4 separate regions of the Homo sapiens genome follow, and regions 1, 3 and 4 are each linked to region 2. The links are contacts of gene promoters, found by promoter capture Hi-C in blood cells and fetal thymus (Javierre and others, 2016). All regions are on one chromosome and are shown on one strand. The core of a region is centred on a gene start or on the middle of the fragment in contact, and the rest is flanking DNA. Distances in the headings are between cores, read along the strand shown. Region 1 overlaps TTC13 (tetratricopeptide repeat domain 13). Region 2 holds the start of FAM89A (family with sequence similarity 89 member A). Region 3 overlaps FSAF1 (40S small subunit processome assembly factor 1). Region 4 overlaps TRIM67 (tripartite motif containing 67).

Region 1 (6,224 bases), core at 906-3,405, 130 kb after region 2:
CTACAGGTGCATACCAGTAGTCCCAGCTACTCAAGAGGCTGAGGCGGGAAGATCACTTGAGCCCAAAAGTTTGAGGCTGCAGTGAGCTATGATCATGCCAATGCTCTCCAGCCTGGGTGGTAGAGCAAGATCCCATTTCTTATAATAATAATTTGTGGCCCCGTTTCTTCCTTCCTTCCTCAATCAAGGCAGCAGCTGAGCTTTTCTTTGTAGGCTCCGAGGACTAAATGCAACACTTTGCTAGTGGCGTTATACAAAAAATGCCTGTTGTATCAAACTTATATCCTCCACAGAACCTCAGTGGAGCTTCAGCTCCACTTTTTTTTTGTTTTGATAAAAAACAGAACCATGGTGTAGTCCCTGAACTTTCTTCCTACACACAGTTCTTGCTTCTGACCTTTAATCCTAATGGGGTGGCTTAGAAAATATTTACTGGTTATTTAAATGCATTCTTTACTATGTGTCATTGTTTTCCCATATATTAGCTTAAGTTTGTGTAATAAGTACATGTAGTTAGACTTAACTGTGAGCAAATGAGTTACTGGTCACTTAAAGGTGAGGCAACTATCACATTTTATGAAGAAAGAATGCATTCTCATGAAACCTACCTTGCTTGTCTATAGTTAGAAAGGTAAGGTACATTCTTGTATATGTTTAGTGCTACGTCAGTATGCTATTTGCTTTTTAAAAAAAACTTTCTGTGTTTGGCTGTTTGAACTTATAATACATGCCTTTCACACTTATTTTTGTATTTTCAGAGTTGGCAATATATTATTTTCTGTGGAAACTCAAACCACGGAAGAAAGGACACAATTATATCATGCTGAAATAGATGCACTTTATAAAGATTTGACAGCAAAAGGAAAAGTATTGATTCTTTCATCAGAATTTGGGGTAGGTTTCTCTTTGTTTCCATTTTTCTGCTCTTCCTATGATTCTTTTGTAAATTTTTTGAACCTCTGCCCTTTCACTGAGATTGTACATCTTATGCTTGAAATTGGGTTGAATTGACCTAAAAATATTTCTTATTTCTTATAGGCAAAAATTCTTGTATTTAGTAACTACAGTAATGGGGAGGATAATAAATTAATAATTTAGTACTGCACTATGACATTATCATAAGTTTGGGCTTTGACAAGATATAAAAAAGCTGGTCCATAATGAAAATGACCTGGGCTTCACCTTTTTCTTCCATTTTCTTCCCTTCGTTGCGGTTGTTGCTTATAACCGTATATTTACAAGGAGCTTTTGAATGTAAACTGGATGATGCATTCTGATGAGTTAATGGCAAGGAAAGTATAATGAAGTTGTGTATACTTTGCACTTGGCGGCCCTTTCCTGGTCTGTGGCCTTCTTCTTTGGTTGTCTGCTTGGACTCGAGGTGGAGTCGTTACAGGCAGCAGGGTATGGTGGACATTCTCTCCCCACCACGCCCCTTCTCTGTGTTCTGCAGTGGACGGGTGCCCCTTACCCTTGAAAAGTCACCTTATTTCTCCAACATTTAATCACTGCATCCATATAATTAAACATCTAAGTTTATACACATAATTGAGCATCATCCAAATCTCAATGCGGAGTAGGGGAAGGGGCTTACCCAGATCTTTTGGGGTAAGGTACATGTTGTTTGAGAGAACATATTTGGTGTTAATAAATGCCTTTTAAAATTTTAGTCACAATATATATTTTGACATTTCAAATAACGTTAAAGGAGACTGAGATTTTTATGTTTATCCAAGAGTTGCAGTTTAAGAAACAGCTGGGAAAACATTGCTCTAAATTGAACTAAATTGGAAAAAAATGATACAAAAGGGTATAGAATATTCAAGAATTTGAAAAGTAGATTCTTATGGGGGAGGAAGAAAACAATCCTCTTCTTGATGTAGATTATTCTTGTGTGTTCTGTCACCTAATGAAAAATTAGTTTGTAATCTTTATAGTATTTATGAGTCTGTATCTTTTTTTTCTAGGAGGCTGATGCTGTCTGCAACTTAATCTTATCCTTAGTTTATTACTTTTATAATTTAATGCCACTCTCTCGAGGATCCAGGTAAGTAATATCCTGTCATTAAAATTATTTTAAATTGAGAAATGTGTTCTTTTTTGCTTATCCTTCCTGTTATGGATATAGGTACAGAGTACACAAAGAAATGGTAAGGAGCTCCCTATTTTTTTCCAAAATCTGCACAAAAAAATATTTCCTTAGTCTATCACATCAGCAAAAGAATTATAGAAGACAGTTCTAATATAGTGTGCTTACGTTTAATAGGATAGGGATTCATCCATTCAACACAAGTTCATGGAAAGTTTACTGTGTATCATGTGCCGTGCTCAGTGTGTTTTAATTTTTTGTATCTGCCAGCCTCTTACTGAACCTCTTCCTCCTCCTCTTCCTTTTCCATTTTGGGCTGTCAGGTGACCCATAATCCTCATGTTTTATACTTTTGGGCCAACAGTCACTCTGTACTATTTTTATTATTTTGGATAAATTCTTGCTACTTGTATATCAGGAGTTTTTTAGGTATCATTAAAACAAGAGCTATGACTGTAGAGTTTTCATTTCATTCTCCTTTTCCCAGCACTGTGTGCAGTAAATTATGTAAATGGCCTTTTGCCATTACTGGCACATAGTTGAACTTAAGATGTTTTGGCTAAAAATAATACACTTGAATGTCTTTATCTTTGATTAATGGCTTAGAAAGTAAAACTCCCCTAAGTGTGGTAGTAAATTTGGTTATAGAATTTAAGACTCATTGAAACAAAATAGAAACATAAATGTTGTCTTATCAGCATAATATTGCTAGTTGTGTCCACTGAATAAGGGATGTGAGGCCTGTGCACATCACCGCTTGTGGGCCCCACTGTACTCAACAGCCAGCATCCGTCCTTTGTCCTCACAGCAGCTCTGCTGGCTCACGTGTGACATTGAAGGACGTGCAGCTCTGATTGTCCTCAACTCTGCCTCATCCCTACATCTCTTCAATCCTAAATAGTCTGTTGATTCTGCCTCCCACACTTCTGTTTCTCTCTTCCCTGTACCCGCCACAGCTAGCTTTGCTCCTGCTCCTCTCTGTGCCCTGCGGCTCTCCAGCACCTTCTGAAAACCATGGGTTTAAGCCGAGCTTGGCAGCATACACAGTGCGCAGTGCTAGCCCTGCCCTGCCCTGGTTTGCCTTGGCTGCAGCACCGCTCTCTTCCGTGGCTCTTTTGCTTCCCCTTGGCTTTCCACGTGGGCTCTCTGCCACATCTCCCTGCCTTCTCTGCCCCTTTCATCTTCAGCCCTGGGACCCTGGAGGTTGCAGAGCACATGTCTTTAGCCTCTGAAGTCTTCCCTGCTGGAGAACCCCATGAATCACCTTGACTCACTTTTCTTGGTGTCCACCCATGGCACTTGTTAGCTTTCTCAGGTGCTCGTGCCATCCTTTCCACCTGCTAGGATGCATTATCTCATGGGTGAGAGCTGTCTTTATTTTGAGCCGATTTGTTTTGGGAAAAGCACAACACTGTGGTTACAATAGTGGGTCCCATGGCCTTTTGCCAGCCCCTTCCACCCAAAACCAGTCAGCTCCCTCTCTTCCCTCACCAAGAGCAGAAGCACAACGTCTTACAAATGCCTCCTACCCCAGACCTGCACACTCGCAGCTCTACACTCGTTCTGGAGTGACAGGGCAGCAGACCTTGCCCCACGAGCCTCCGAGCCAGCAGGCAAAGGTACCCCACAATCCCCTGGCCTCTAACAGCCACCTTGGAGCCCTGGCAGTTCACACACATGCCCAAATCTCCAAACCATCTGTCCGTTAGTACATTGTGAGAATGTATTCTGCATTTCTTCTTTGAAGGCCAGCATTTCTAATGCTTAAAAAGTAAGACTAACATATGTATTTGTATTTATGAACTTTATTGTATACATGCATTGCTGGAGTGCGGTGGAGCGATCTCGGCTCACTGCAACCTCTGCCTCCCGGGTTCAAGCAATTTTTCTGCCTCAGTCTCCCAAGTAGCTGGGACTACAGGCACATGCCACCACTCCTGGATAATTTTTTGTATTTTTGTTACAGATGGGGTTTTGCCATGTTGGTCAGGCTGGTCTCGAACTCCTGACCTCAAGTGATCCACCCACCTCGGCCTCCCAAAGTGCTGGGATTACAGGTGTGAGCCACCATGCCTGGCCTAATTTTTGTGTTTTTAGTAGAGACAGGGTTTCGCCATGTTGCTGTCAAACTCCTGACCTCAAGCGATCCGCCCACCTTGGCCTCCCAAAGTGCTGGGATTACAGGTGTGAGCCACCTCACCTGGCCAGTAAATATATTCTAATAGTAAATTAGTAACTATTCTTAAACAAATAGGCATATTTTCATGTTAAATGAAACATTCGGTGTTTTATTTGAAAGAATTTTTGAATAAATTTTATCTTTCATGATGGGAAGTCCATGGTGAAATTTAACATGGTAACTGTAGACCGTCCAGGATGGATTGACCTTTGTTCTTTATTTAAATAGTGTAATTGCTTACTCGGTCATCGTGGGAGCACTGATGGCAAGTGGAAAAGAAGTAGCAGGAAAAATTCCCAAAGGGAAGGTATGTTGGAGCGGGAAGGGAGAAATGCTTGGTTATGTATTAAGTCCCAATTTATGGATTTTTATTTTAAGGTACACGAGTTACATAGATCTCCAGCCGAGCCTGTGTCCTCCATGTTTAGTAACATTCCTAAATGTCTTTCTTTTTCAGTTAGTCGACTTTGAAGCTATGACAGCCCCTGGTTCAGAGGCCTTTAGCAAAGTCGCCAAAAGCTGGATGAACTTGAAAAGGTAACTACTTGAGGGGGGTCCACACAAGGGTATCATAACTGGAGGAGGAAAAGGAGTTTCCTGTTACTTTGGAGCGCTATGAAAACTGGAACTGTTATACTCATTTTTATAAGTTAATATGTAATACAATGAATTTAATTCACTTTTTCAAGGTTAAAATGTTTTGCTGTTGTATAAGATAACCTTTTAAGGGTGAATGTATGGATAAAAATGGACTATGAAGGCCAGGCACAGTAGCTCATACCTGTAATCCCAGCACTTTGGGAGGCTGAGGTGGAAGGATCATTTGAGGCCAGGAGTTCGAGACCAGCCTGGGCAACATAGTGAAACTGCTCCCCTCTACAAAAAAATTTAAAATTAGCTGGGCATGGTGGTGTGTGCCTGTAGTCCCAAGTACTTGGGAGGCTGAAGCGAGAGGATCTCTTGAGCCTAGGAGTTTGAGGCTGCAGTGAGCTATGGTTGCACCACTGCACTCCAGCTTGGGTGACAGAGTGAGACCCTGACTCTTAAAGAACCATGAATAAAAAATTTAAAAAGTAGTTGGTGAAAGAAAATTACCAAAGTCTTATTTATATGATCAGGTATTCACTTCTCTTGGCCTGTTTACTCTTAGGCTCAGTATTCAGGAGTGTTTGAACTTGTAGACAGAGCCCATTTTACATTACTCTGAGTGGTAGCACTTAGCCTACTTGGTTGCATTTTATTGCAGCCAGGAATTATCCCTGACGGACACTGTGTGTGAGGAGTCTAGCAGACCATGATCGTTCCTGGCTCTTGTTTCCAGAAGCACTGGAGAGGACTGTGTGAATTTGAAGTGTGTGAAATTAAACTCATAGATGCCTCAGTAGTTAATGAAGAATAAGTAAGCCTCACTGTTCAACTTTAGTTATTTTTGCCCCTTCTCCTGGTTTTTTACATCCCAACCACCCCCAGTTTTGCCTTTCACGTCTATTTGACATAGCAACCACTCTATTGCTGGGTAATTTATGTTCTGTTTAAAACAGAAATATTTGTGCCTGTAGTCTACCATTGCTCAATTTGTAATTTAGCTTTGCAATGAAAGCTTCTAACAGTTACACCTTGTCCTGGTACATTGTTGTTTCAGGCTTATTAGTTTGCACATGTTTTAGTAATACAACCACCAGGCCGAAGGTCTTGCTTCTATTCTTACATAATTGTACAGTGTGAATCTTTTGACAATTCTTTAAGGAAAGAATAACAATGCTACCTTACATCCTGCAGTTAACGCTTTACAGCGTACCTTGAAATACCTTATCTCATTCAGAGCTCATGGTAACTTTGCGAGTTAAGAACACTGTCCCTGTGACAGATCAGGGAAGTGCAGCCTAGAGAAGTAAAGAAAGCTAATAAGGAGTGAAGCTGGACCTGAAACCTGTGTCTTTTGATTCCAAGCCCAGC
Region 2 (5,581 bases), core at 1,746-4,245:
TAATGCAAAAAAACACACTGTCAGAAGTTATTTACTACTTCTCTCTCATTATAAGCATGAACTTTAAAAGGTACTTTATATTGGCATTTGAATAAACAGACACTAACATTCCCCAAGGATGTCAAAATATTTGTTATATAATAGTTTCAGGCTTGTACAAATAATGTCTTCACCAGCACCACAGAAATTCTGTAGAAACTTCTCCTTACCCTGGGATATTATTTGTTGATACTGATTTCAATACTCTTACCTCACTGAGTATAGGCCAGAACGCAGAGCCTGCCTTTAAAATGTTAAGGTTGGCCTGGCGTGGTGGCTCATGCCTGTAATCCCAGCACTTTGGGAGGCTGAGGTGGGTAGATCGTGAGGTCAGGAGTTCAAGACCAGCCTGGCCAAGATGGTGATGGGTATGGTGGCGGGTGCCTGTAATCCCAGCTACTTGGGAGGCTGAGGCGGAGAATTGCTTGAACCCGAGAGGTGGAGGTTGCAGTGAGCCAAGATCGCGCCACTGCACTCCAGCTTGGGCGACAGAGTGAGACTCCATCTCAAAAAAGAAAAAAAAAATTGGTAAGGTTGGCATTGTCTAAGTTGTGCCTCTTTTCTCGAGTCCTGACACCACGGACCTCATGCTGCTGTCTAGCTGACCCTAACCTCCTTTTCCTTCTGTAATCCGTAATTCTCTGAAGTATGTGCTTTAAAATGCTTTCAGTGCCCCGATACTTCAAAGTGATTTCTTTTCTTATTTCACCATCACATAGCTGAATCTCCTATCACCTACCTTGAGTGATTTCTGCTAGGTACTACAGGTGAGACTGCATTGTAACCAGTGAAATTAAAGAAATTCATGCAGGCTGGGCGCGATGGCTCACACCTGTAATCCCAGCACTTTGGGAGGCCGAGGTGGGTGGATCACCTGAGGTCAGGAGTTCGAGACCAGCCTGGCCAACATCGTGAAACCCCATTTCTACTAAAAATACAAAAATTAGTCGGGCGTCGTGGCACATGCCTGTAATTCCAGCTACTTGGGAGGCAGAGACAGGAGAATTGCTTGACCCAGGAGGCAGAGGTTGCAGTGAGCTGAGATCACGCCACTGCACTCTAGCTTGAGTGATAGACTGTCTCATAAAAAAAAAAAAATTCATGCTAAGGTGTGAACCGAATGTCAAAATGCTTCCCACCCCTTCCTCTCCCTTACTCCCACACAGGCAGACTGGTCACTCTCCTGAAGACACCCACCGTTTACATAAGTGAATGAATAAATACCTGACATCCAGAAATGTGACTAGGTAATTAGTAGAAGGTGAGGCACAGTGAAGAGGCGGAAAATTCTGGGCAGTGGGTGGGGTGGGAAGCCTGGGTGCTGTCAATCACACCGCCTGCACTAAAGCTTCTTCATATCAGTCTCACCCACTTGCAACCGTCCAGGGAGAATATTGTGCCAATTTCAAAGACACTGCTTCTGGGGTGGGCTCTAGGAGGTGGTAAAGGGTATAAAACAACCCAAAGTGCAGGGCTCTTTTATGTTGGGTGTCTGAAGTGCTCAGAACACTTTATAATTTTGATCCCCTTGAATGTAGCTAGAAAATTAAATCCCTTTATAATTAAAGCCAATAATGAATGGGCATTAAAGTTATCCAATCTATACACTGCATTAGTTTTTAATCTGCGGTTGGGCTGTAGCGTTTACTTCTTGATCTTTTCTATCTCTAATCTGGTTATAACTGCCTGTCATTTTTACTTTTCCTGGGAGGGGCAGAGTCTCTCTCTCTCTTCTCTTTTCCTCTGAGGTGTGCGTCGTGTTTATTTTTGCCTGAGCTGATGGATAATTTCCGAGATTTAATCCCTTTCTCTGGTTTCCTGACATTTCCACTTAGAGTTACTCTTGTGTTTATGGCCAGAATGAAAGGCATGTTTACTAGTGTTTTGAAGTTTCAAAAGTGGGTCTGGCGTTCTTGCTGACTGCTGCGGGTACTGCTGGACAAGGCCGTGCTGAGAAGGCCAGCGCGCCCGGCGGCAAGGAGCGACCTGCCCGGGTCTGGGGCCCCCAGCCGCCCCCCGCGGCGAGTGGGAGGCAGCAGGAGGCGGGCTGGATTCCGCCCTCGGGGAGGGCCGGGGGTCCTGGGACCAGAGCCAGGCCTCCTGCCCTCGACGTCCTGCCGGTTGTGAGCCAGAGCCTCGGTACCCCCACCCCCTGCAACGGCCTGCTTCGTGGGATCTGAAGCTGGGCCGCCCCCTGGGCAGGGCAGGGATCGGTGAGGCAAGGAGCTGAGGAGCGCTGGCAGGTAAGGGGGAAGTCTGGAGCCGGGTTGGAGGTGAGCGGGCGTTGAGGGGTGGGACAGAGGGAGTGGAGACGGGGCTGGGGGCGAGCCAGTGAACTGGGGGTGGCACAGAGGAGGTGGGAGCAGAGATGGGGGTGATCCGGAAGCCTGGGGTGGGGGGTGAGTGGGTTCGGAGCTGAGGGTGAGCCAGTGAGCTGAGGGTGGCACAGAGGGCGTGGGGGCGGAACTGGGGGTGAGCCGGGAAGCTGGGGGTTGGCACAGAGGAGGTGGGGACAGAGATGCGGGTGAGCCGGGAAGCTGGGGTTCGGGGTGGCGCGGGTGAGAGGGTTCGGAGCTAGGGGTGAGCCGGGAAGCTGGGAGGTGGTTCAGAGGAGGTGGGGACAGAGATGGGGGTGAACCGGGAAGCTGCGGGTCGCGGGGGGCTTAGTAGGTTCGGAGCTAGGGAGTGGCACAGAAGGGTTCGTGACGGGGCTGGAGGTGAGTCGGGGGGTTAGAGGGTAGTCACGCGGAGTTGGAGATGAATTAGGGCGCTGGAGGGGCGCGAGGGAGGAGGAGACCCGGGTGGAGGCGAGCCCGGCTGCTGGACGCGGACGCCACCCGGACCCGGGGCCCGCGCAGGGGCCTCGAGGAGAGGGGGCGGGGCCGGGGGGGCGTGGCGCGGGAGGGGAAGTGGGCGGGGCACCGCCGGGAAGGGGGCGGGCCGGGGGAAAGCCTTGGTTCGCTGCAGCGGGGCAGGCGCGTGGCCGGGCCGCGGCGCGATGAGTGGGGCCCGGGCGGCGCCCGGGGCCGCGGGCAACGGCGCGGTCCGGGGGCTGCGGGTGGACGGGCTGCCCCCGCTGCCAAAGAGCTTGAGCGGGCTGCTGCACTCGGCGTCGGGCGGCGGCGCGTCTGGGGGCTGGCGGCACCTGGAGCGGCTGTACGCGCAGAAGTCGCGCATCCAGGACGAGCTGAGCCGCGGGGGCCCGGGCGGCGGCGGGGCCCGGGCGGCAGCGCTGCCCGCCAAGCCTCCCAACCTGGACGCCGCTCTGGCGCTGCTCCGCAAAGAGATGGTGAGTGGGGCTCCGCGAGCTGGGGCTCTTCCCGGCCGGGCTCGCCGTCCCGGGAAAGTTCGCGGGGACCGCGCTCTGTCCGGAAGTCCCCGCGCCCACCCGCCCTTTCGGGCTCCTCCGCCCCAGGCGCCGGCGCCGTCCTCCCAACGACCCCCATTTTTCTCGCGTGCTCCGTGCCCACGATTGGAACCCCCGCGGGAGAGCCCCGCGCGCAGAGGGCGGCTTTCTTATGCCCGGCGCCCTCAGTCCGGCCCCGCTGGCTCGGAAACCTGGGCGCCCGGAAGCGCTGTGCGGGGTTCGTGCCTGGCCTGGGGGCGGGGGCGGCCTTGTCACCTCTCCCCGAGTGAAACAGACCTTCCCGGTGGGGGAAAGGCTTTCACAGCGGCCCAACGGATTAACGCGATTGCGTTTTCCTACCACGAAGAGGACAACTTTTGTCCGCCGCCAGTGTAGACAGCAGATTGGAACAGCCCGGCCCCCTTTCCGGCGCCCCAGGCCGCGCGTCCGTGATCCGATTACCGCGGGATGGCCCCGGCGCACAGATGGCTGCGAAAGCAGACGCGCACCCCGGGCGAGGGAGGCGGCCGGGTCCCTCAGCCCCGCGAAGCTGATTGCCCAAACCCTCTTGAGAAAGGTGGGAGGTGGCTGTCCTCCCGGTCTGGGTGCTGTCCATGTGAGTTCTTCGCCTTGTGTCTAAGCTCCATACCATGGGCTCAGTGTTTCTCTGTGCTTGGGAAGTACATTAGCTGTTTGTGGACCAGAACACACATGATTTAGGGTGACGCTAAAAGTAGGACAAGGGCAGGGATTTAGGCAACAGCGAGTCTTTCCCCAGCTTTCTCGGCCAGGCGTAGGCCAGGCAAGAAGAAATCAAAAACTTTTCCTCTTTTCTACCATCTTACTGGCCCCCATCACCTCCTCCCAATCCCCTCGTTTTAAAAGCCTCCCTTTCCATTCACCTCGTCCAGGTTGTCTCCTTTCCCTATAGGTAAATTGTTAAGAAATCTAACATTAGGAAAGCTGCCTTTTCCCAAAACTAAATTTGCCAAAAAATAAATTGTTATAGGAATCTTTTAAATATGTATCTAGTGCATTTAAGATATTGTTTAGAAAAATTCAGGGTATGCATACTTTTTTTTCAGGAGCATTATCTGTTCTGAAAACTAAGACTTAATTGAATTCAGAAAGCAGCCTTAACACTTTTAATCAAAGAGATATTGTCTTCCTACTCTGTAGCTGGCATTGAAGTGATTTCCAATTCTCACTGAAAAGATTTTCTAAGCTTCTTACAGAACCACTTAAATTCCAAGCCAACCGTTTTTAATTTATTAAAAAACATTCATTGACATAAGCATCACACAGCTGGTGAACTGCATTTTAATTAGATAAATCTACACGTAGTGTGTTTACAGTCTGAACTTGGACATAGCAGAACCACGGGGGTGAAGTAGGAAGATCATCTTTGATTATTTAAATTCCATACTTGAGCAAGAGATAGAAAAACCTCGGGGCCGCTCCTGTTGTGAAGCTGTGGTTTATAAACATGCTCTGGAGTCTTGCTATGGTGGCTTGGGAGTCAACGTGCCATTCCCAGAAGTATTTTTCCAGGTCCCTCCTGGTGTGACTGAAGCACAACCACATCCGTATAATTACGCCTTGGACCAGAGCTCTCTGTAAGCCTATTTGAAGCACAAGAAAAATAAACAGCCATCTTTGGTCTGCCTGGTATTTAGCTGAGATAAAGATAAGATATGGCTGCAGGTTTTGACAAGTTCCTTTCAAGAAATGTCACAAGGCCTTTAAAGTTGCCCAGAGAATCTTTCGGCTTTTTAATTGATTTACTGACTTGGGGCCATGGGGTCTGAGTGGACAACTCAAGCTGAGACTCCCTCTGGGGAGGCCTTGCAAAACAAGAACTGGGAGTTCATTCCTGAGATATCTGCAAAATAGTTTGTGTTGATCTGTTTAAATTGAAGGCCTGACGTCAAATCTGTGGCAGGGGACATAACTAGATGTCATGGTAGAATGTGATAAATGCCTTAAAGAAATTTTTTTTTTTAAAGCAAGCATAGAAAGAGGGGCAACTTCTAATAGGGACAGGGAGCAGGGTGGTGTGGAAGACCTCAGAAGGCGACAGAATTTCGACAAGGGAAAGAGGCACCAGGAAGGTAGCTGCGGAGCTGGAACTGGGAGTGCGCCAGTTTGAAATGTGAGCAAGAAGGGCCTGGGCAGGTGGACCGAGTGGACTCTGAG
Region 3 (5,613 bases), core at 1,247-3,746, 190 kb before region 2:
TTTTGAACTTCCTGACCTTAATGAAAATTTTCATTTGTCATTGCTGCTCTCTGCCCTTTCCTCTTGTTTTTTTTTTAAATGTGTCCTTTGAAAATGTGAGTGTGTCTGGTTAAGGAAACAGAATGTGGACACATTAAAAACACATACACCTGTAAAATGACCTCAGAATGTTGACATTGCGGTGTGGAAATAAATACACATGAATATAATGCTAGTTCTTATGGCATATCCTGGGTATGCCAAGTTAAAGGGTAGTCAGCCAACTGGTGCTAATTGGAATACACCAGCTGTGCTGAGTTTGTGTAACATGGGAAAGTATAGTTGTGCCCTTGTTCTCTAAAAACTTCTAAGCCATTGTAGGACAGTTAAACAGACATGGGTGGCAAAAATATATGATGGGTAATGGTAATCTCCATGACCAATCATAGCATCAGCTGGTCATTTTTAGAGAATGCTTGAGAAAGGAAGAAGGGGATGGTGAGTTGGACAACAATCCAGCTGGCCCTGCCTAGACCCAGGAAATTACCCTATTTTTCCAGAACTTGTGCTATAAATTCTATGATTAAGCTGCATCGTGCATTGAAGCAGGTTTTCATGGGGTCATCTCGGAACTTGGCCACCATTTATATATATTTTTTTATGTTTAGAGACAGGGTGTCACTCTGTCACTCCTGCTGGAATGCAGTGGTGTGATCATAGCTCACTGCAGCCTCCAATTCCTGGGCCCAAGCCATCCTCCTGCCTCAGCCTCCCAAGTAGCTAAGACTATAGGGCACACCACTATGCCTGGCTCATTTTAAAATTTTTTGTAGAGTTGGGGTCTTGTTTTGTTGCCCAGGCTTGGTCTTGAACCACTGATCTCAAGAAGTCCTTTTGCCGCAGCCTCCCAAAGCACTGGGATTACAGGTGTGAGAGCCACTGTGCCCAGCCATCATGTCCCTTTTTTTTTTTTTGAGATGGAGTCTTGCCCTGTCACCAGGCTGGAGTGCAGTGGCCTGATCTCAGCTCACTACAACCTCCGCCTCCCGGGTTCAAGCGATTCTCCTCCCTCAGCCTCCTGAGTAGCTGGGACTACAGGTGCACACAACCATGCCCAGCTAACTTTTGTATTTTTAGTAGAGATGGGGTTTCACCATGTTGGCCAGGATGGTCTCGATCTTGACCTCGTGATCTGCCCTCCTTGGCCTCCCAAAGTGCTAGGATTACAGACGTGAGCCACTGCGTCCGGCCCATGTCCCATTTTTAATGTAGTGACTATACAAGTAATTTGGCTGGAAATAGTATGGGATCACATATTCATTCCTCCATTTATTCCACCAATCACTGGGTGCCTGCTGTCTGCAGACCTTGCAGATGGAGCAGTGAAGAAGATAATAGTGCTTTGCCTTTATGGAGTATACTGTACAATCTACTTTGGAGTTGAGCAATATAATTAGAAAGAATTATAAACAAATAGGGTCCTGGAGTACCATGCAGAACCTGGTCTAGATGTAGTGGTCAGGGAGGTCTCTCAGGAGGTAACATTCAGGCTAATGCTGTATTAAATGGTGCTGGTGAATGGGGCAGGGAAGAGTGAGCCAAGGAGGGAGAAAACAGCCTTGCTAACATTGTGGGGTATGAAGAGGCCTGGTGTGTTCAAGGAGCTGGAAGAAGTCTAGCAAGACTAGGACAGAAGGGAGAATGGTTGGTGCTAATACAAGAGAGACAGGCTGAGACCAGCCCTTGCCAGGTCTCATAGGCAGTAGTGAGCCTTGGGACTTTAGTCTTAAGTACATGAGAAGCCACCAAAGAATTTCATGCAAGGGCATGAGGTAATCTGATTTAAATTTTAAAACGATCACTGTAGCTCCTATGTGGTGAATCGATTATAAGGGAGCAATAGCAAGAGGCATGAGGAGACTGATGTAGGGGTTTGTTGCAGTGGTCCAGGTTCAAAATAGCGTGGCCTGGACTAGTGATCTCAAAAAAATGAATGGGCAAACCTACTCTTTCATAAGTGCAAGGCTGCCTGTAAGGAAGAAAATTCTTATGCTTTTAAGCAATGAAAGCGTCAGATGTAGCTTAACACACCTGTGTGTTGCTCAGCCCTTAGAGCTGTGTCACTGCCATTTCTCCACAGCTAGCATTGGGCCATCTTAACGTGAATCATTCACTGCCCCTGTTTCAGGAACCTTAGCCTCTTTTGTGGCCTCAGATAAGAAAGAGATAAGAAACACATAATAGAATAGTGTTCTGTAGATCAGAAGGGACCTTTGCATCCTGAGACTGAGGTACATGAAGGCCGCCCCTGAGCATATAGCGAATTGCTAATATTTATTGGGGGTGTACTGAGAGTGTTTGTTTATGTTCATTAACTCATTTATGGTCTCAATCCTCACAATTCCTGGCACCTGTCTTCATTTCACAGAGAAGCTTGAGACTTACAAGAGGTTAAGTTACTTGCCTGTAGTTAAACATTAACCTCACAGCCCCATATCTGCAATTCCAAACACCCAGAGCTCTGGAAACCACAATTTGATTGATCCCTTTTCTTTTAAGATTGGTGCAGATTTATTTGGCAGAAAAACCTGATGAAGCTTTTAAAAATCATTTTTGTTCGGCTGGGCACGGTGACTCATGCCTTTAATCCCGGCACTGTGGGAGGCTGAGGCAGGCGGATCACAAGGTCAGGAGTTCAAGACCAGCCTGGCCAATATGGTGAAATCCTGTCTTTACTAAAAATACAAAAATTAGCCGGGTGTGGTGGCATGCGCCTGTAGTTCCAGCTACTCAGGAGGCTGAGGCAGGAGAATCGCTTGAACCCGGTAGGCGGAGTTTGCAGTGAGTCGAGATTGTGCCACTACACTCCAGCCTGGGCAACAGAGCAAGACTCCGTCTCAAAAAAAAAAATTTTTTGTTCATCTCATTTGGTGTGAATATTCATAGATATTGCCACAGAAATATTAATGTGTTTAATTATGGATTACTGCCTTGGACCCTACTGGAAGTGGTCTGTAATATTCAGTATATTCAGTTTTGCCTTTTTAAAATGTAAAGACTTCTGAATTTTAAAGCTGGAACCTGACCCTAAGGATGCCAGATAAAGGATTATGGAGCTGAAGTAAGTGCCAAAGGTTGGGTTCAGACCCCAGGCTTTCTGGCTTCAACACTGTGTACATAACTTTTATACTAGAGAGAGCATAGGTGAGGTTAGGCTCTGCTCTTTGTCCTTTGAGTGACACAAGTACACTGACTCTGAGCCATCGCCAGACAGAGACATTTCTTGCAAGTTATAGTCAAATAGCTTTGATCGTTCCCCAAATTCTTGCAGCTCTCATACTGCCCCGCAATGTGGATGTAGCCCACTGCATGGTACTCCACCCGGAAATCCTCCATGCTCCAGTGCCTCTTCTTACTTTTACGCCAGACTTCCTGTTCCTGAGTAGATCAGTGTCAGATGGGTGTTAGGAAGAAAGTAATCTAGCTGAAGTAATTTAGGCTCATCAAGGTGTGAACAAACTTCTTAATATTCATACAGCCGTCTGCATTTTTAAAAGAGCATTTGTTTACCGGGCTACTCTCTCTCTAATTGGAGACAGGTTGGTTGGGCACTTCAACTAATAGATTAAAAAAGAAAGAAAATCTAAGCCGCGTAAGAGAAAATACCTAAATCACCCCATAGACGGGTTTGCTGAATCTGGTGGACTGCCTGCCTTCATCTCTCACTTTTCTTCCAAACTGTTCTTTCTTTTTCTAGCTTTTCTTCCTTCTTCCCTGCCCAGCATATAAGTTCTCAGAATCTCCATACATATCCCTCTCCCTTGTGTGGGATAGTAAGGCTAGATTAGTTGCGATAGGTTAGGCTGTGATTTGATAACAAATAGTCCCTACATCCCAGTGGTTTAAAAGACAAAAATTAATTTTTCTCATGTTACATGGCCATCGGGATTTGCAGAGGCAGGTCTCCTGTGCCACACCATCCTCACCTAGGGACCCGGGATGACGGGGTGCCACCATCTGGAGGGTGGTTAGTTGCTTTAATGAAGGAAAGGGGAGTTAATGAAGGGCTCTTAAGGGGTCCACGTGGAAGTAGGCACACACCCCCTCTGCTCGTGTTTCTTTGGCCAGGGAAAGCCACCTAGGCATTCCTAGCATCAAGTAGACGGGGAAGCGTGAGTCGCCTGTGTGCCTGGAAGTAGTGGAGGACCCAGTATTGCCTATGGGCAGTAATGCCTCCTACTGCAGAGAATATGGGGGGAAAGAAAACCGAGGAGACCACTGATGGTTTCTAAGTCAGGTCATGTATTATGAATAATGTACTGAAGTGATTCTCAAGCTATGAATAAAAATAAAAATTAGACAGTGGTGGGTCATGCTAATAGGGACTCAGCAGCTATGAAATAATGAGGCAAGAATTTTTTTTTCCCAAAAGTTTGTGTTTGATACATGCACAGATCTAGACCTCAGACCCTTTCTCAAAAAGCCATCAATAGCTACAAAACTAAGATGTTTCTGGTGAACTGTTTAAAGAGGGATGAGGACACCGAGGTATCTGTGTCTGTGCCAGAGCTACCACCAAGGGACTCTCTCCTCCCCTTGGTCTAGTCGGCCCCTCAGCCCTGGTGTCCCCACAGCCAAGGTGCAGGGGATTAGGTGTTCTCCGTGGCTGCTGATGGGGACAGCAGGAACTAGGAGAGGCCCGACATTGCTCCTTTCTTTTGTAGGCCGGTCTCTTTCCAGGGCCCAGGGGTTTCAGCCTCATAGTAGCTATCATACAGTTGGCCAAGAATTTTATTACTGTGCTGAAATCCTCTTTAAATTGCTCCATTCTCATGCTAATCTCTAGTAACAGATCGGCCAAAAACATCTATAACATCTCCAGTATTGCTAGAAATCTGACGTGCCTCGCGCCACTGCACTCCAGCCTGGCGACAGAGTGAGACCCCGTCTCAAAAAAAGAAAAAGAAATGTTCAACTTAGAGACTTGATTTAGCCATTACTTCAGTGGAGCGGGTAGGAGGGAAGAGAGGAATTACTTAAATGTTTAGAAAAGGCGGTAAATATCTTAGGGGATCTTGGAGATCTGGGAACGGTATACAGGGTTTTGTTTGTTTTTATAGGGGTTAGATATGGTCATAGTAAATAGATTAGATGTGCATGGCAGTGGAAAAGATATCGTAACTTCAAAGTAAATGTGGAATTTTTTCCAGTCATAGAATAGGAATAAGACTCTTTCTGGTGTGGATAAAATGGAAGTGGCGCACACAGAGTCCTCCGTGCTATGCCTGTGGTCTCAGTTAAGGCACTTGATGCTGTCAGCCAAGTGGGAGACAGGTTTGAAGAAAATCTGAAGCCAGGAAGGAAGATGAAGTAAATGGAAAGTGCGTCTGTTGTGATTAATAGCACAGAGCTAGGCCATACGCCTGGACCCTGACAGTGGTCCTCTGCTGTCACGTCCTCTGTTACCATCAGCACCCCAAGCCCACGGAGAGCCAGTCAGCGTCCAATGTGACAGTGGATGCCCATGATGCTGCTGATGGTATGGTCAGTAGATCCATTAGGAATAAGAGCGTTGGGTAAGCCTTGCTGTTTTTTGGACCCTGTGCCACACACTTATCACACTTTATCCAGTTA
Region 4 (6,147 bases), core at 444-2,943, 160 kb before region 2:
TTCTTTTCTTTGAGACAGACTTTCTCTCTTGTTGCCCAAGCCAGAGTGCAATGGCACAATCTCGGCTCACTGCAACCTCCGCCTCCCAGGTTCAAGTGATTCTCCTGCCTCAGACTCCAGAGTAGCTGGGATTACAGGCATGCGCCACCACGCCCGGCTAATTTTTGTATTTTTAGTAGAGACGGGTTTCTCCATGTTGGTAAGGCTGGTCTCAAACTCCCAATCTCAGGTGATCTGCCCGCCTCGGCCTCCCAAAGTGTTGGGATTACAGGTGTGAGCCACCGTGCCCCGCCTCTTTCTTCTTAATACGATGCACAACGTGCAAACTTTCAACACTGAGTATTTCTCCCGACGCCAGAGCTGTGCTCACCTGGATCTGCTGCAATATGTTCTTTAGCTGAACCAGAAACTCCTTTGCTTCCTTTGCCTTATCTGAAACTCCATTTAAGGCCTGAGATAGTTGTGCCTGAAAAAGATATCACATGTTGAAAAGAAAAATTAGTTGTGAAAGGCACAGAAAATTTGCACTTCATCATAAAAGCTTATGTTTATAAGAGGGGATAGGACTGATCCCACGCATCTGCTGTTCTCATTGATGAAGGGACCACCACTGACCCATGATCTCTACAACATTTGTTTATTTTTCCAACAGTGGTAGATTGGCCTGCACTCTCCTTTCTCATCCCCAAAGCTGGATAGAGGTAAGGAGCACTCAGCTAACGGGTTGAAGCAAACAGGTCTGCCCCTGATGTTTGTAGAGCCCAAGACAAGAAGATAAATAGAGTCCTTGGCTTGGCCTGGCCCCCTCTATCCATAATCAGTACATGCCTGTATGGACATTCCAGACCCCAGGTCAGGTTCCGTCCACCCCATCCCTACACAGTCATCTCCTGGCCTGGGGTGCAAACCCTGGGGCCTGGTATGCCCTGAGGGATGGACAGGAAGGGGGCTGTGGGTCCTGGAACTGGACTAGGTGTATGGACTGGTAATCCTAGGGCATCCTCTAAAGGGGCATACAGGCTCCTAGCCTGGTACCCTTAGCCCTGGGGACTCCTCACCCTGCAGAGAGGGGTGTGACCAGCAGAAGCTTCTGAAGCATGAGGATCAGTTGCTGTGGCCCAAGGGTGAAATTGCAAGCTGAGCTCAAATCTATGGCTTTTGGCACCAGGCTTTTTTGTAACGAACCACATACACACACAATTGAATTTGTCTTTAAAACCTAGCTATTGAGTAGACTGTGACCTTGATTTTTTTTTTTTTTGAGACAGGGTCTCACTGTGTTGCCCAGGCTAGAGTGCAGTGGCTCAATCATGACTCACTGCAGCCTCAACCTCTCAGGCTCAAGTGATCCTCCCAAATCAGCCTCCAGCTAATTTTTGCATTTTTTAGTAGAGATGGTGTCTCGGAGGCTGTGTTGCTCAGGCTGATCTCAAACTCCTGGTCTCAAGTGATCCTTCCACCTTGGCCTCCCAAATTGCTGGGATTACAGGTGTGAGCCATCACGCCCATCCAGACTGTGACCCTGATTTTTACATGACTCTCATTTTCCACATTAAAAAGCTGAGGATAGAACAAAGCAGAGTCAGAAGGGCCAGGGTCTCCTTCTCCCCCAAGTCCCCTCCCAGGTCTCTGCTCAGACGTCACTGTGTCAGTGAGGACTTTCCTCACGACCTTGTGCAATATCCCCCTCGCCTTCCCCTGGCTTATTCTTCCTCCTAACAGTCGTCACCACCCAACCTAGAAAACTTGTTTGCTGTCCATCTCCATGTCCTAGAATGAAGGACAAGGGCTTTGCTGGGTGGCTCACAGCTTATCCCGGCACTGGAAGAGTACCCGGCACATGGTGGCATTCAATAAATATTTGTTGAATGCATGAATCAGTGAATGGGATTCTTTAGACCACACCAACGGTTGTCAAAGTGTGGTTCTAGACCAGCAACATCAGCATCACTGGGCGATTTGTTGAAGTGCACCGTCTCTGGCTGCACCCCAGATCTGCTGATCAGAGGTCGTGGGTGAAGCCCTGGAGTCTGCGGTTTACCAAGCCCTCCAGGGGGTTCTGATGCAGTTTGAGATCCCCTGGACTGTGCAAGTGCAGCCTCCACTGAAAACCTATGGAGAAGATGGCAAAGGAAGCCCACAAAAAGACACAGGGAGTAGGTGGAAATACAAGGAAGGGGGCCCGGTCCCCAGGAGCACCAGCACGCAAGGAGAGGTCAAGGTCTAGGCTGTCTGCTCAGAGAGAGCAGGAGCCTTAGGCTAAGGATCAGCGGAGGTGCAGCTCCTTGGAGAAGCTTTTTCCTACACCATGAGCCTCACCACTCCCAGCCCCACCTCAGTGGGTTTAGGCTCTCCACTCCATAGCTGGCCCACAGTGTACCACCATCTGTTGCCAGCACCTAGGCAGTGAAACATCCCATAGAATATACAGTGATGGCAGAAGCGTCTCAGGTCTGCTCTGTCCCTGACGGTAGCCGCTAGCTGCCTGTGGGTACTGAGCACTTGAAGTAGCTAATGTGACTGAGGAGCTGGACTTTTCATATTATTTAGGGTAAGTTGCAACTGCCATGTGTGATTAGCCAGTGGCTAGTCCTGGAGAGCACAGGTTTGACACCCATCTGATAACCTACAGGTCACATTTGGCAGGCTTCTGGATTAACCTCCTGGGAAAGGCCTCGTGATTCATGGCTTACATCCTGTCTCTGAGAAAAGGCTCTTATCCCGAGGCCCTCAAATCTTACTGTGAGTTCCTCAAACTGTTGACATACTGATTAATACATAACCTACTGACATCAAAAAGGACAGTGAAGCCAGGTGGGGTAGCTCATTCCTGTAATTCCAGCTACTCAGAGGCAGAGGCAGGAGAATTGCTTGAGGCCAAGAGTTCAAGACCAGCCTGGGCAACATAGAGAGACCTCCCTGCCGCACTCCCCGGCCCCGCTTTCCTCCCTCATCCTCACCCTCTCTCTATAAAAAAATTTTAAAAATTAGCTGGGCATGGTGGTGTGTGCTTGTAGTCCCAGCTACTCGGGAGGCTGGGGCAGGAGGATGGCTTGAGTCCAGGAGGTTGAGGTTACAGTGAGTTATGATTATGACACTGTGCTCCAGCCTAGGTGACAGAGTGAGACTGTGTCTCAAAATAAAAATGACACATTTGTTTCTGAATCACAAAGTTTTACTGATCGCCTTGCACATGGAATGTTAGCCTGTATGTTGTCATCTGTAGCCAATGAATGTAACCTCTGTGCTGTAGCCATCAATGGAAAAGGACAACTCTGATAGGAGGAGCTCTCCCTTCTCCTTCACTTTCTAGATAAGCCTTCCAACCTGTGACAGGCTCTGGAACATGCCCAGCTTTGTTGGTGTGTCTTCCCCAGTCGAGCCTCACACTTGGCTTCCAATGAACCTTTATCAAATTATTTCTGCCCTGACAGCCTTAATTTTGCCACATCCTTAGTGGGGTGCAGAGCCCAGGACAACTCCACCCATCCCAGGATACTCACCCTCAAAAGGAGGCTGAGGGGTCAGCATCATTCACAGGCCCTGGAAGATATCTTTAATGACAGGAGTTTTCAAGTTGAAGTTTATCAGGGACAGGGAAAGAATAGCAACCCCTTTCCAAGACTCCCACCCAAAGCATGGGCCCCCTGGGGCTGTGGCTGGCCCCTCCTCTCTTGGTCAGCTCGGGCTGCAGCAACAGAACACACAGACCTGGGGCTTCAGCCACAAACACGGATTTCTCAGAGTTCTGGAGGCTAGAAGTGTGAGATCCGCGTGCCAGTGCGGTTGGTTCAGGGTGAGGGCCCTCTTCTGGGTTAGGTCCTCACGTGGTGTCATGGTTTGGATATAGTATTTTTGGCCACATTAAATCTCATGTTGAAATTTGATCCCCAGTTTTGGAGGTGGAGCCTAGTGGGAGGTATTTGGTCACAGGGGTGGATCCGCATGAGTGTCTTGGTACCGTCCTCCCCTCCTGCTTAGCGGGTTCTCACTGTATTAGTCCCCACGAGAACTGGTTGTTAAACAGAGCCTGGCAGCTCCCTCCTCTCTCTCTCAATTCCTCTCTTGCCATGTGATGCCTGCTCCCTTTTGCCTTCCACCATGAGTGGAAACTTCCTGAGGCCCTCACCAGAAGCAGATGCTGGGGCCATGCTTCTTGTACAGCCTGCAGAATCATGAGCCCCATAAACCACCTTTCTTTATAAATGACCCAGACTCAGATATTCCTTTATAGCAATGCAAATGGACTAAGATGCATGGATTTTCCTTGGTGTGTGCACCAAGAGGAGAGAGAGAGAGAGAGAGAGAGAGAGAGAGAGAGAGAGAGAGAGAGCTTGAGAGAGAGTTCAGGTGTCTCTTTCTTTTTTTTTAAGGGAATTAATTCTATCAGAGGGGGCTGTGAGCACATCTAAACCTAATTACCTCCCAAAGGCTCCACCACCTAATATCAGCACATTGAAGATTTAGGCGTCAACGTATGAATTTGGAAGGGACACAAACATTCAGTTCATAGCACCTCCCACTCATCATACAGTCCTCAGTGGAGAGACTTTGTCTTTTGTCTCTACATTTCTATCCCACTGTGCTGCACAAAGTAGGAGCTCAAAGAATGCTCCCCGGCTGAATAAAAAGCAAAATAATTGCTTGAGGTGCATGCAAAGAGTGGGATAGATCCCTGCAGATTCATCACTGCGGCTAGCACCTTCCTGGAGGAACTCAGCAAGCTTGCTTCTGCCTGAGAGGCAGGGTAGTTAGGGTCACGCACCATCTGCCCAGTACCAGGGGCCAGGACGGCTCTGTCCCAGCCAGCGCCAGCCTTCCAGGAGCCCAGCCCTCCCCAGAGCCTGCTGACCTTCTTCCTGCTTGGCAAGAAGACCAAGGAGCTTGGCAAGAAGCCCAAAAACAGAGTGGTTTTGAAGGAGACCCGTGACCGCAGGCTAATGCCTGGCTGAAAGGGGGACAGTCTCACGGTTCAGCGGACACTGCTTCCAGGTCCATCAGACTTGCCATCTAATTTTTCCCTCCACTGCTTTTTGATGCCCCCTTGGTGAGGTCACCTCAATGCACGCCACATTGGGGCCTGCCATGTGCTCAGCCACGTGAGGGCCCTGTGCCCTGGTCTGCAGCCATGGAAGAGCCAAAATGGGCAGTGTGAGGGCTAGCCGCTGTCGAGGGATGTCCTCATAAGCACACACTGGTCCTTTTCTTCAACCCAGTCCTTTGTGTGTGAATGACCACAAGTCAGTTCTCCTCACTCAGGGAATAGCATTGTGGAAATCAGACCTGATAATTCTAGTGGAAAAAGAGCAAAGGTTTTTGGAGTGAAAGAACAAACGATTTTTTTTTTAAGAGATGGAGTTCTGGAGCAGTGGCTCATACCTGTAATCCCAGGACTTTGGGAGGCCGGGGTGGGAGGATTGCTTGAACCCAGGAGTTTGAGACCAGCCTGGGCAACATAATGAGTACGACCAGACTGGGTAATATAGTGAGCTGTTGTCTCTACAAAACATTTAAAAATAAGCCAGGTGTGGTGGCATGTGCCTCTAGTCTCAGCTACTTGGGAGGCTGAGGCAGGAAGATCACTGGAGCCCAGGGCGAGACCCTGTATCAAAGACAGAGAGAGAGAGAGAGAGACAGGGAGAGTGAGAGAGAGACAGATGGAGATCTGGAGAGCTTTCTCTGCCACTCAGGCTGGAGTGCAGTGGTGTAATCATAGCTCACTGTAGCCTCAAAAACCTGGCCTCAAGCGATCCTCCTGCCTCAGCCTCCCGAAGCACTGGGATTACAGGCCTGAGCCACCTTGCCTGGCTCTCACTCTCTAAAGATGGGTGGCCCAGGAAAGCTGCATCAGCTCCCTGCCCTGCTGCCCCACTGCACGCTGGAGATCTCTGCCTTGAGCAGAGTTGGAGTGCCACAAGGTAGGCAGCATAGTACCTGACATGTAGAATGTGCTCCATAAATATTTGTGTCAGTGAATTGATTTTGCTCTAGATTTTTGTCTGACTAGCTCCCTGAGATATTCAAGTCTCAATCCTCTCCCACACTGGGCATAATTAAAATGGCCTTGTGGTCATTCCAAACCTACTGTTTCTAGGGCATGGAGCCCCATATGGTCCCGGGCACCAGCAGTCTGACCCTACTCTGAGG

Evidence for each region. Contacts are between HindIII fragments. The CHiCAGO score rates a contact against its expected background, and 5 or more counts as called.
Region 1: a contact is called between a fragment that was not itself captured here and the fragment with the promoter of FAM89A in region 2, in 6 of 17 cell types (naive CD4 T cells, non-activated CD4 T cells, total CD8 T cells and 3 more). The highest score is 7.8, in naive CD4 T cells.
Region 3: a contact is called between a fragment that was not itself captured here and the fragment with the promoter of FAM89A in region 2, in 6 of 17 cell types (naive CD4 T cells, activated CD4 T cells, total CD8 T cells and 3 more). The highest score is 7.3, in naive CD4 T cells.
Region 4: a contact is called between a fragment that was not itself captured here and the fragment with the promoter of FAM89A in region 2, in 1 of 17 cell types (erythroblasts). The highest score is 6.1, in erythroblasts.

The regions. Positions count from the first base shown.
Region 1 is chr1:230,907,293-230,913,516 of GRCh38, reverse strand. It overlaps TTC13 (tetratricopeptide repeat domain 13), which reads left to right. Exons shown (of 23, transcript NM_024525.5): 19 at 759-894; 20 at 1,968-2,047; 21 at 4,497-4,575; 22 at 4,726-4,805. Among named protein-coding and RNA genes, the nearest start is that of C1orf198, 42 kb to the right of the region's middle. The HindIII fragment of the contact is 7,430 bases long and covers 1-5,870 here.
Region 2 is chr1:231,037,668-231,043,248 of GRCh38, reverse strand. It overlaps FAM89A (family with sequence similarity 89 member A), which reads left to right and starts at 2,995. Exons shown (of 2, transcript NM_198552.3): 1 at 2,995-3,328. The coding sequence starts at 3,038. RefSeq lists silencers at 2,834-2,943, 3,204-3,253, 3,894-3,973 and an enhancer at 3,636-4,317. The HindIII fragment of the contact is 3,223 bases long and covers 1,390-4,612 here.
Region 3 is chr1:231,230,836-231,236,448 of GRCh38, reverse strand. The region is part of intron 2 of FSAF1 (40S small subunit processome assembly factor 1); the gene reads left to right. Among named protein-coding and RNA genes, the nearest start is that of FSAF1, 7.5 kb to the left of the region's middle. The HindIII fragment of the contact is 164 bases long and covers 2,415-2,578 here.
Region 4 is chr1:231,191,690-231,197,836 of GRCh38, reverse strand. It overlaps TRIM67 (tripartite motif containing 67), which reads right to left. Exons shown (of 10, transcript NM_001004342.5): 2 at 371-466. Among named protein-coding and RNA genes, the nearest start is that of TRIM67-AS1, 7.1 kb to the right of the region's middle. The HindIII fragment of the contact is 1,207 bases long and covers 1,090-2,296 here.